2 separate regions of the Homo sapiens genome follow, and region 2 is linked to region 1. Evidence: promoter capture Hi-C in 16 types of primary human blood cells and fetal thymus (Javierre and others, 2016). All regions are on one chromosome and are shown on one strand. The core of a region is centred on a gene start or on the middle of the fragment in contact, and the rest is flanking DNA. Distances in the headings are between cores, read along the strand shown.

Evidence for each region. Contacts are between HindIII fragments. The CHiCAGO score rates a contact against its expected background, and 5 or more counts as called.
Region 2: a contact is called between the fragment with the promoter of ZNF8 here and the fragment with the promoter of ZNF585A in region 1, in 1 of 17 cell types (total CD4 T cells). The highest score is 5.8, in total CD4 T cells.

What each region holds. Positions count from the first base shown.
Region 1 is chr19:37,168,417-37,174,112 of GRCh38, forward strand. It overlaps ZNF585A (zinc finger protein 585A), which reads right to left and starts at 4,279. Exons shown (of 5, transcript NM_001288800.2): 1 at 4,211-4,279; 2 at 1,423-1,638. The coding sequence starts at 1,494. RefSeq lists enhancers at 4,180-4,369, 4,211-4,505. The HindIII fragment of the contact is 2,114 bases long and covers 3,141-5,254 here.
Region 2 is chr19:58,277,593-58,283,776 of GRCh38, forward strand. ZNF8 (zinc finger protein 8) reads left to right here and starts at 1,363. Exons shown (of 4, transcript NM_021089.3): 1 at 1,363-1,555. The coding sequence starts at 1,490. ZNF8-DT (ZNF8 divergent transcript) reads right to left here and starts at 1,150. Exons shown (of 3, transcript NR_187495.1): 1 at 931-1,150. ZNF8-ERVK3-1 (ZNF8-ERVK3-1 readthrough (NMD candidate)) reads left to right here and starts at 1,374. Exons shown (of 7, transcript NR_144447.1): 1 at 1,374-3,017. RefSeq lists enhancers at 1,439-1,488, 1,909-1,958. The HindIII fragment of the contact is 22,069 bases long and covers 1-6,184 here.

The DNA.
Region 1 (5,696 bases), core at 3,029-5,528:
CAATCTCTGACCACCATGGTGGAAGACAAAACCAAGACCACTCTGTCATTATACTTGAGCACAGACAAAAATCACAATCTTCTTCAAACCATAAAAATCTCCTTACTCTGCATAAGGAAAGTGACTGCCAATTATACCTTTACCAATTATAGCTTTTGCTTCAATCTACCCTTCATATTTTCTAGGTAAAAATGATTAAGATACCCAATCATAAAATTTCCCAATAGGAACAGAAGTAGAGGTTCAGTGAAATTCAGCTAGAAGATTCTTATTACCTGTGACTAAAACCAGAAATGAAATTCTACTACAACTTACACATGCAACAGAAAGGAAAGACATGAGAAGAATGCCTACTGCTACATAGTTCATAATATGAGCTGTATTTTACCAAACAAATATTTAAAAAGCAATGTGTGAAAATTTAGTCTACTATGGCACCTTTTGTGAAATAGAAAGAAAAAAATGTGTACTTGTTTTTACTTGTTTATAGAACTAAGCAATCAAAGAAAAAGAATAAAATCGGTCCTGTATGTTGAGAAACATGGGGGTAGGTGGGGAACGGAGGTGGGTGAATCACAGATCCATGTTTCCCCTGAATTTGTTTCCTATAACACTTTTCAGGGTGTGTTGCCTTTAAATGCATTTCTAATTGTTTTTAATTTTTATTTTTTACTATTATTCCCATTTTACCAATATTATTTTTGAACGAAGTGTATATATTCCCTATTCAGAAAACTAAACTTTCCTAATACACTATCACAATATCTCCAGAGGCATAAGAAATAAAATTATACCCATGAAATAAGAACAAGATGCTAATCAAAAAGAATATTTAGAAAATAAATTACAGTTATTAAAAATTAAAACGTTGAATTAAAATGTTGATAGTGGTAACGAGAAACTCAAAAGAAGGGCTGGAAGGCAAATGTGACAAAGCTTCCTGAAAAAGAGAGCAGCAAAGAAATAGAAAACAGTAGAGGGAAAAAAATGGAGAACCAATATCCGAAAAACAGAAATGTAAAAAAAAAAAAAAAAGAAAGAAAGAAAATATTTGTGTTTGAGGAGGCAGTTTAGGAAGAAACAAGAGAAATACTTTGAAAATCCCACAGAAAAGTGACTTCTAACCAGGAAAATCTATCCACAGCCCAAAGATCAATGTAGTGTGATGACAAAATAAACAACAGTTTTTCTTAATAGTCCACCTCTCCACTGTCGCACAGATGGCCTCCAGAGACGAAGACATTACCCACATGTTGCTCATTCTCAACAGGAAGATCAAGATTTGTTTCAGGAGCAGCAGGTCTAGAGTCCAGCTGCTTCCTGTGGCCCAGCTCCCTCCCTCAGTCATGAGGTTCTAGTGACAGACCAGAGATACCTAGTCCTGGATTGAATTCCCACCCCCCTGGGACTCCTCCTTCTCACCTCATAGGAGCTGCCATGATCCTCTGGAGCCAGGGCTGAGGATTTCTGAGGTGAGGTCCAATTAGCTGGCATGGCCACACTGGGTCTCAACCCTTTTTCTGTAGGGTGTCTGAAGCTTGGCAGTCATCTGTGAACTCAAGCAGAGCTGCTCTGAAGAGATGGGCTGGAGTCTAGAGGAAAATCTGGCCCAGGGGCTCCCCAGAGACACCCAGAAACCTGGAAAGACAATGTTCCCATAGTCAGTCATTTCACATTCAACACATAAGCACTTCCTGGATATATCAAGGTGCAGGTCCCTGAGCTAGAAACCAAAGCAGTGGTTCTCAAATGGGTATGCATTCAAGTTACCTGGAGGACCTGTTAAATGAAACACAGTTAAAAATTCTCAGCCTACTCCACAGTTTCTGATTCAGTAGGTCTAAAGTAGAACCCAAAAAGTTTCGTTTCTAACTGGTGCCCAGGAAACGCTGATGCTGTCAGTACAGGGACCACACTTTGAGAACCAGCGCTGAGGAGAACATAAAATTTAACAAAATCTGTGATAGGTATTAGTTACGGTGAAATATGGGAAAAGTCATGAGAGATGGAGTAATGTTACTGCAGATTTGAACTGCAGCTCTGACACTTTTCACCTATGAGAACAGAAGTTTCTTCACTTTCTTTTGAGACGGAGTCTCGCTCTGTCGCCAGGCTGGAGTGCAGTGGTGCGATCTCGGCTCACTGCAAGCTCTGCCTCCCAGGTTCAAGCAATTCTCCTGCCTCAGCCTCCCAAGTAGCTGGGATTACAGGCATGCGCCACCATGTCCAGCTAATTTTTGGTAAAGACGAGGTTTCACCATGTTGGCCAGGATGGTCTGGATCTCCTGACCTCCTGATCCGCTCGCCTCTGCCTCCCAAAGTGCTGGGATTACAGGCGTGAGCCACTGCGCCCAGCCATTTCTTCACTTTTAATTTCAGAAATGAGGATGAAAATGCTTATCTCAAAGTTACAAAAATTAAATGAGATAATACTTGTAAAGTACTCAACACCTCCCAGGCACACAAAAATCATACAATACATATCAGCGATTACCATGCATTATCAGATATTAAAACAATATAAAAACAATGTAATAAAAACAAGTAAAACAATAAATATACCAGACAATATTGATCTATATATGTGATAAAAGTGGTATTCAAATGAGTGTGCATAAGACATTCATTGCATAAATGGCAGTGATATAATGCAGTGATATAACTGGCTGGCCACCTGGAAAAAAACAAACTAGATCTCCATCACACACTATTCAGTAGGCAAATGCCAGCAGGACTGATCACTTAATTATGTGTATTTGTTAAATCACAAAGACTATTAAAATAAATTTTAGAAGTATACATGTGTATAACACTGTGGTGGGCTGGGAGGGATCTTATTACACGTGAGAGGAAACACAGACTCTGTAACAGAAAAATCAGATACTTTTGATTAGATGATATTTCCTAACTTTATGTTAAAATATACCACAAAAAAAAGTAGGACAAAAGATATGAAAATTCACAGAAAAGGAAACAAATGGCAATTAACCAAATAAGATGCCAACTTTAGTAACTGGAAAATGCATTGGAGCAATTAGATATAATTTTCCCTCAAAATTTTAAAAACTTTTAAAATGCAACAATATCCACTGCTGGAAAAGCATCTGGGAAAATGAGTTATTTTATAAATTGTTGGTATAAGCTTGAATTGTTATATTTTGAGCTACTTAGTCATATCTATAAAGTATTAAAAATGCACATATGCCGGGCGCAGTGGCTCACGCCTGTAATCCCAGCACTCTGGGAGGCGGAGGCAGGTAGATCACCTGAGGTCAGGAGTTTGAGACCAGCCTGGCCAACATGGTGAATCCCCGTCTCTACTAAAAAATACAAAAAATTAGCTGGGCGTGGTGGCGGGTGCCTCTAATCCCAGCTACTCTGGAGGCTGAGGCAGGAGAATCCGTTGAACCCACTAGGCAGAGGTTGCAGTGAGCTGAGATCGCGCCACTGCACTCCAACTTGGGTGACAGAGCGAGACTCCATCTCAAAAAAAAAAAAAGTGCACATAGTTATTCCTAATAATTTCACATATATAAAGCAGAAAAAGAAGGACAAATGGACAAATAACCTTTCCAGAGTTGAGTACTTTACCTTCCTCTGTAATTAAGCAGACAAAATAATCTGTGAGGAGACAGATATATTTTTTGAATATATGCTTAATTAATATCTATAACAATACAATTAGAGAACATAGTACACTGTTTCTATGTAATAGATGTGACATTCATGAAAACTGACCACGAACTAGGTCATAAAGCAATTTTTCAATTTGACCATTAAACAGACATTACTTTAAAAAGGAACTTCTAAATAACTCATGGATCAAAGAAAAAACCACTTAGATTTGAACAATTTTTAATACAAAGATTCACCAAAACTTGAGAATTTTTATATTAAAGAAGACTGAAAATTAAAAAGCTGAACTTTCAACTCAGGTTAGAAAGCAAGCTGATTACAGTCCTCACCGATCACCATAACTGACCCTACAGGCTCTGTCACTGACCACAGACTCCCATCACTGACCCCCAAACCTCAATCACTCATCCCAAAGAGCTCCATCAATGACCTGAGAAATCCGTCACAATCAACAACGGACGCCACAGAACCCCATCACCGAAGCCTGAAACCGCAATCACTAACTCCACAGGCAACCTCGACACCCCCTATTACTGGCTCCACAGAAACCCCAATCGTGATCAACCAAAATCACCTCAAAGATTTATCGGTATTGGAATATGAAAATACTCCTGACACCAGCGGCAAAAAAGCCTTGGAAGACCACTTCCACTTCCGGTCCGACTTCTAGCACCTCCCCTTTGTAGGCTGTTGATATGGCGCATGCTCTGAATAAACTTGGAAGCCAGTTTCCTCGAACAGTCAACAGGGCGCAGACACAGCGCACAGGTTCCGTAATGTGGCGCTGTCCGGCAGAGAACATGGCCGCGCCCTTATGGTGTTTATTCGCGTGGGCCGCCATTTTGAAAGCATATCCATTCCGTAGAGCAGAGGAATTGGCCGCTGGCAGGGTTTCCTAGAGCGAGGCAGGTATAGTTACATAGGATGCTGGAGTGTGACCCTTGTCTGACTAGGCTTCTATTTCGGAGGAGAAAGTTACTGGAAATGTGGGTCTGGTGCTGTATGTTATATTTAGAAAAGCTAAGTTACCTTTCTGAATACAGGACACTGAGGATAATAATTACCAGGGAATAGAGGAGCCAGGGAAAAATCACCAAGTGAAGGGGATCCTGGGAGAAACCACAGGCAGATGATAGGAGGAATCAGGATAGTACAGTCCATTTTTTACAGACGCCATTCAGGGAAAAGGTGGAAAGGTCACTAGGGGAGTCATCTCTTGAGTGAAACCACCCTGAAAGTCTGAGAGACATCTGAATGAGTAGTAGGCTGCAGGAAGAGTGGTACAACTTTTAATGGGAGAAACCGCCTTGGGAAATAGGGTAGAAGTCCAATAGTATTAATACAATCCTCTCCTGGGAGATACCACCAGAGGAGGGAGGAGAAGTCCGGGCGTCCCCTTCTGAAGGGCTGGGTCGGGTGGGAAGGTGAATAGAGATTTGAATCACCCATTACCCTCCACACTAAATACCTCAAGTGCAACTATAGTAGGCAGCAATAATAACAACACTAATAGTCTTTAGTATGGCCAACGTGTTACTAAAAGCACCTAAAGAAGACTGTTTTTATTTACCTTGAAGTTAAAATATAATTAATAACAATCGCCTTACCATGTCAATGAAGCTTTAAGTGCAGTCTCTGACCCTTAGCTTCTCCTCTGTGGAAATTCTGAAACCTCCTTACTCCCCTTTTTGGAGGGTGTGGATGAGGAGTTGTAAAGATACAATTCCTTTCACTTGGTGAACTCCTAAACATGATTCACAGCTCAGCTTCTGACAGGAAGTTCTACCTGAACAGTGGTGGGAAATTACTACCCAATGTGTTCAGTTCCAGCAGGTGGGAAACTTGTTTTCAGGGAATTGAACCTACACTCTGATGTGGGCATGCTGGATGCCTTCAGGCCAGTTATGTCTGTCTCTGGGACTCGGCTTAAAAATATGTTTAGAGAATTAGACTCTGCTGATCTCAGGTTTTCTTTCTTCTCCGAAAGGACGGTCTAAGGAAACATCTGTGGAAGTCCGTTAGTAAACACACAATTTCTACCAAGGGGCTAAGAATTACTG
Region 2 (6,184 bases), core at 113-2,612, about 21 Mb after region 1:
TCTGTCACCCAGGCTGGAGTGCAGTGGCCTGACCTCGGCTCACGGCAACCTCCGCCTCCCAGGTTCAAGCGATTCTCCTGCCTCAGCCTCCCGAGAAGCTGGGACTACAGGTGCCCGCCACCACGCCGGGCTAATTTTTGTATTTTTAGTAGAGACGGGGTTTCACCATATTGGCCAGGTTGGTCTCGAGCTCCTGACATCGTGATCCACCCGCCTCGACTTCCCAAAGTGCTGGGATTATAGGCGTTAGCCACCGCGCCCGACCTTTAATAAACATTTTAATGGACTACAACAGACCCACAGAAAAAGACACATCACAAAGTGAACACCCACAGGGAGAAGCAATAGGGCTGTCAGAGGCATTCGACCCAGAGCGACTCCATTTTGAGTGAGGGCTAGGAAAATGAGGCTGGGCTGCATTCCCAGAAAAGTAGGTATTCCTAACCTCTAGATGTTTACGGTTAAGGGAACAAATTAATAATGGGTACTAAAACAGACCCAGACTTGGGAGTGTCCAGATATCCCGGTATCTAGAGAACAAAGGCATTCCTAATTTTGCTTTAAAAATAATATCGATTCTTGAAAAATACAGTAAGAAAATTAATCCTTTTTCACAAACCCTTGTAGCAGAGCACATCTCCCCAAAATCTATTTTTAGCCCAAATATACACAAGCATTGTACCTAGGGTGCATACGTTCCTCTTACTTTCAGGAACGTCCTACTGTCTATGGGGTAGCTGTTTCACAACTTTACTTTCTCAACAAACTTGCTTTTACTTTGCACTGCGGACTCGCCCTGAATTTTTTCTTGCGCGAGATCCAAGAACCCTCCCTTGGGGTCTGAATCGGACCCCTTTCCTGTAACACAACCACCGCTCCCAGCCTCCCCGCTTCCAGCCGCTAAGCCCAAAGTCTTTTATATGAACAAACCTCTAACTCGTCCTGTGACTTTGATGCGTGTGCGTTTTAGGCACCGGGGAGCAGAGGGTAAAGCGGCGCAGCTCCGGGCCTCCTCCCGCGCAAGTTCCCGAGAAGAGCAGGTCCGGCCCGCGCAGACGTGCACGGTCCCCAGCCATTAGGAGGAGCAGACGGTCCCCACCCCCACAATCAGTCATCTCTCGGGGTCCGCCCTTGCTTCCTGCCCACGAGTGAGGCCTCTGGTTGCCCGCAACCTAAGGGGCATCGCAGCCCCGAGCAACACCGCCCCCACCAGCCTTAGCTGAGTGCTCCCATTGGCCAGAGGCCAGCGGGTGGGGGCTCCCATTGGCCATCGGCCATAATGCTTCCATTGGTCGAAGGCCAGACCAGCGGAGACTCCCATTGGCCGAGGGCTGTGGTTCGCCGCACGGCCTACTGGGAGTTGTAGTCGCCGCGTCGCCGGTGCGGCCGCCATTGTCCGGCGTTCGGCGAGTCGGGTGGTCCCTTTGGCTGGAGTGCCTCTCTGGTCTGGGGATCACCTCAGGCGCTGTCCTTCACTGGGCGATCCAGCATGGACCCCGAGGACGAAGGGGTAGCGGGAGTGATGTCTGTGGGGCCGCCGGCGGCCCGGCTTCAGGTAACAATAACAACAATAACGACGGCGGCGGGCTCCGGGCAAGCGTCTCCCGCGCAGACTGACCCTTTCACCTCGCGGCGCGATGAGAGCGGCACCGCTGTTAATGCCCTTGACACGTGGGGAAACTCAGACGCGGGTCGGGGCGTGGTGACCGTCCTGGCTGGTCAGAGAGGGGGCCGGGATTCCAACCAGGCGCCTGGCCCCCGAATGCGCATGCTCCACGCGGCTCTGTCCTCCCCAGGGCTGGGGTCGGTCATTCCCGAGAGAATCGAGCAGGCCCATCTCCTGCGTTCTGCTCCGCCCCGCCGACACCCTTGCCCATTCCAGGAAGGTCTGTCCTCGTGTTGACTGATAACAGTAATTGTAGCGTTGGCCGGGTGCCCAGATGGCAAGAATCATCGAATAGAGATGCTTTAACGCGTGGAGTCAGCGGACACCCACCGGGACCCCAGCACCGCGGAGCCCCTGCCCTGGGGCTTGGGCACAACCTCTTGGGGGCAATGATGGGTCACCACGCACTGAGTGTGATGAGAGTGACCACCAGGGTCGTCCCCTGCGAGACTGTGGGAGAACTGCAGTGCAGGGCGGTCAGTGTTTGCAGGGCCATCTGGCCATCAGAGCTCCACTTTCTAGACAAAGTGGTTGCGGCCTGTGTTCTCCATAAAGCTGCCTCGCGTGGCAGGAAACAACAATAATTATCCTTCCTCAAGCTCTGCAACTTTGAAATTATACTTTTTTTTATTTTTTGTCGTTGGTTTGTTCATGGGGATTTGCATTATTTCAGATTTGGTACACAAAGTGAGACTTGATAATCTTAGGTTGCAGGTTTTCAGATGTGTGTTGCTCCAAATTTGCATGAAATGCTACCACGTTTTATTTTGTTCTTGCTGTGGATGGGGGACAAGGAATGAGTCGTAAGAAAGGCTTGAGAGAAAGTGTATTAGTTACCTGTTGCTGTGTAACTCAAAACTTCGTGACCTGGAACAACAATAAATATCTCACGAGTTCTGACAGGAGTAATGGAATGTCCTAGCTGGTGGTTCTGGTTCAGGCCCATGAAGTTACAGTGAAGATGTCAGCATAGCTGTTGTCACCTGAGACCTGAGTCTGGAGGATCCACCTCCAGGATGGCTCACTCACATGTCTGTTGATAGGAGACCTCAGTTGTTCTCCATGTAGGCCTCTCTTTGGAACTGCTAGGGATCCTTGCAACATGGCATCTGGCTTCCCACAGAACAAGTGATCCAGGAGAGGGCAAGGTAGAAACTGTAACACCTTCCATGACCTGGATTCAGAATTCACACTCTTGTCACTTCCACGGTGTCTTACTGGTTACAAAGTCAACCTTGTTGAGTGTTGGAGGGGACCACACCAGGGCTGGAGGTCATTGGCAGAGGTGGTGGGGGAGCATCTTGGAGACTGTCCATCACAGGAGACAAGGACCAGAATGGAGAGCTTCAAGGTCCAGTGTTTTATCTGGTTATCTGTGTCTGCTGTAACAATTCACTACAAATTTTGTGGCTTAAAACATTTGTTCTTAGGTTCTGGAGGTCAGAAGTCTGAAATCGGTTTTCTGGTCTGGAATCAAGGTATGAGCAGAGCTACCCTCCCTACCAAGGTTCTAGGGTAGAATGTTTCCTCGTCTTTTCCAGCTGTGAGAGGTACAGACCTTCTATTCCTTGCCTCATGGCCCTTTGCCTGTCTTCAAAGCCTGCATTGTAGCATGTTGCTTCAGTGATCATATTGCCTTATGTCTTCTATAGTCATAGCTCCCTTTGTCTACCTCTTATAAAGACACTTGTGATTGCATTTAGGGCCCACCTGGATAATCCAGGATAATTTTTCTGTTTGAAAATCCTAATCACATCTGCACAGTTCCTTTTACCATATATAGTAATATTCACAGGTTCTAGGAACTAGGACCTGGATATCCTTGGAGGCCATTATATATCTCAGTCTACCATAGCCAGGCTGAGAGGAGCCATCCAGTATTCAGTGATGAGAAGGAGCCATTCACGTGTTTTAAGCAGGACTGGCATAGGGTTGAAAAAATCCACTTATGCATTAGGGGCTGGTGGGAAGGGAGATACTGGCAGCTCAACTAAGGCAGTGGGAAAAAGAGAGGAGTGGTTAGGCCCAGTGACCAGGTGTTGGCTGATGCTGGGGTGAAAAGAATATGTAAAGGAGAAACATCAGAGCACAGCCCCACCCCTTCAGGCTCCAGAAGTGCAAGACAAGAGGGAAGGCTGCAGGGATCTGATGTAGGGCAGAAAGAACATCATGAGACAACAAGGAGTGGGCTTCTGCTAGAATTCCAAGAAGGAAGCCAAGAGGAGGCATGAAGGACTTGTATGATGCCACTGAGAATTCTCATGGCTTGGACAGACCAGTACTCAGTGGACGTGGTGTCTAGGCTGTCACCAGTGACTCTTGCAGAATGGGTGATGATGGGAGGTGGGGGCAGGAGGCACGGGAAGCACAAATCAAAATTGGTGGGCATTCTGAGTGGAGGAAAGCGAAGACACAGAGACAGGAGCAGAGACCTCAGTTCCCAACCAAAGGCATCTTTCTGTATGTTTCCTATTAGAGCCACCTGCTACCTGTACTAAAATTTCTTTCTTATTTTTTAATCTACTCATGTTTTTCTTAAAAGGAAATGTCCTTTTAAAATTGAAGTATTTGGGGCCTGGTGCAGTGGCTCATGCCTGTAATCCCAGCACTTTGAGAGGCCACAGCAGATGGATCACTTCAGGTTAGGAGTTCAAGACCAGCCTGGCCAACGTGGTGCAACCCCATCTCTACTAAAAGTACAAAAATTAGCTGGGTTTGGTGGCACATGCCTGTAATCCCAGTTATTTGGGAAGCTGAGGTGGGAGAATCACATGAACCAGGGAGATGGAGGTCGCAGTGAACCGAGATTGCACCACTGCACTGCAGCCTGGTCAACAGAGTGAGGCCCTGTCTCAAAATAAAAAATAAAAAAATTGAAGTATTTAGTATATGTGGTTTTGTTTTGTTTTTTAACCTAGCAGCAACACTGGTGGTGTATAGTTTTGATTTTTCATTTCCCTGATGACTAATGATGTTGAACATCTTTTCATGTACTTATTTGCCATTTGTGTATCTTCTTTTATATATTCTTCAAAGAAATAACTATACAGATTCTTTGCCTATTTTAACTGGGTTGTCTTTTTATTACTGAGTTGTATGTGTTCATTACATATTCTAGATACAAGTCTCTTATCAGATATGTGATTCCCAATTATTATCTCCCATTCTGTGAGTTGTCTTTTCACTTTCTTGCTAATGTCCTTTGAACTACAAAAGTTTTTGTTTTGATGAAGTCCAATTGATTACATTTAGTTGCTTATCCTTTTGGTTTCATATCTAAGAATCCCTTGCCAAATCCAAGGTTACAAAGATTTATCTCTCTGTTTTCCTCTAAGAGTTTTATAGTTTTAGCTCTTACTTTTAATTTAATTTAATTTTTTTTTTTTTGAGATGGAGTCTCACTGTGTCGCCCAGGCTGGAGTGCAATGGCATGATCTCGGCTCACTGCAACCTCTGCCTCCTGGGTTCAAGCAATTCTCCTGCCTCAGCCTCCCAAGTAGCTGGGACTACAGGAGCACGCTGCCACGCCCGGCTAATTTTTGATATTTTAGTAGAGATGGTGTTTCACCATGTTGCCCAGGCTAGTCACGAACTCCTGAGCTCAGGCAATCCACTCGTCTCAGCCTCCCAAAGTGCTGGGATTACAGGCGTGAGCCACTGCGCCCAGCCTCTTACATTTATGGCTTTGTTTCTATTTTATTTTATTTCTTTTTTTTCTCTTCTTTTTTTTTTCTTTGAGACAGGATGTCACTCTGGTTGCTTAGGCTGGAGTGCGGTGGCATGATCTTGGCTTGCTGCAACCTCCACTTTCCAGACTCAAGCACTCCTCCTACATCAGCCTCCCAAGTAGCTGGGACTACAGGCAGCCTGGCTAATTTTTTTCAAATTTTTTTTGTAGAGGCAGGGTTTTACCATGTTGCCCAGGCCAGTCTTGATCTCCTGGACTCGAGTGATCTGCCTGCCTCAGCCTCACAAAGTGCTGGGATTACAAGCATGAGCCACTCTGCCCAGCCAGCCTAATTTGTTTTGAGTTAATTTTTATATATGATATAAGATAGAAGTCTGTGTTAGTTTGAATGTGTCTCCCAAATTTCATGTGTTGATAGTATTTGAAGGTGGCGACTTTTGGGAGAAATTTAGGATTAGATAAGGTTATCAGGATTGGACTCCCTTGATGGGACTAGTGGCTTTAGAAGGAGAGAGAGACCTGAGCTGGCACACTCTTGCCCTCTCGCCATGTGATGCCCTCCACCATCTTATGTCATAACAAGAAGGCCCTCACCAGATGCCAGTACCATGATATTAGACTTCCCAGCCTTCAGAACTGTAAGAAATAAACTCTTTTTTTTTTTTTTTTTTGAGTCGGAGTCTCACTCTGTTGCCCAGGCTGGAGTGCAGTGGCGCAATCTTGACTCACTGCAAGCTCTGCCTCCCGGGTTCACACCATTCTCCTGCCTCAGCCTCCCATGTAGCTGGAACTACAGACGCCCACCACCACGCTCGGCTAATTTTTTGTAT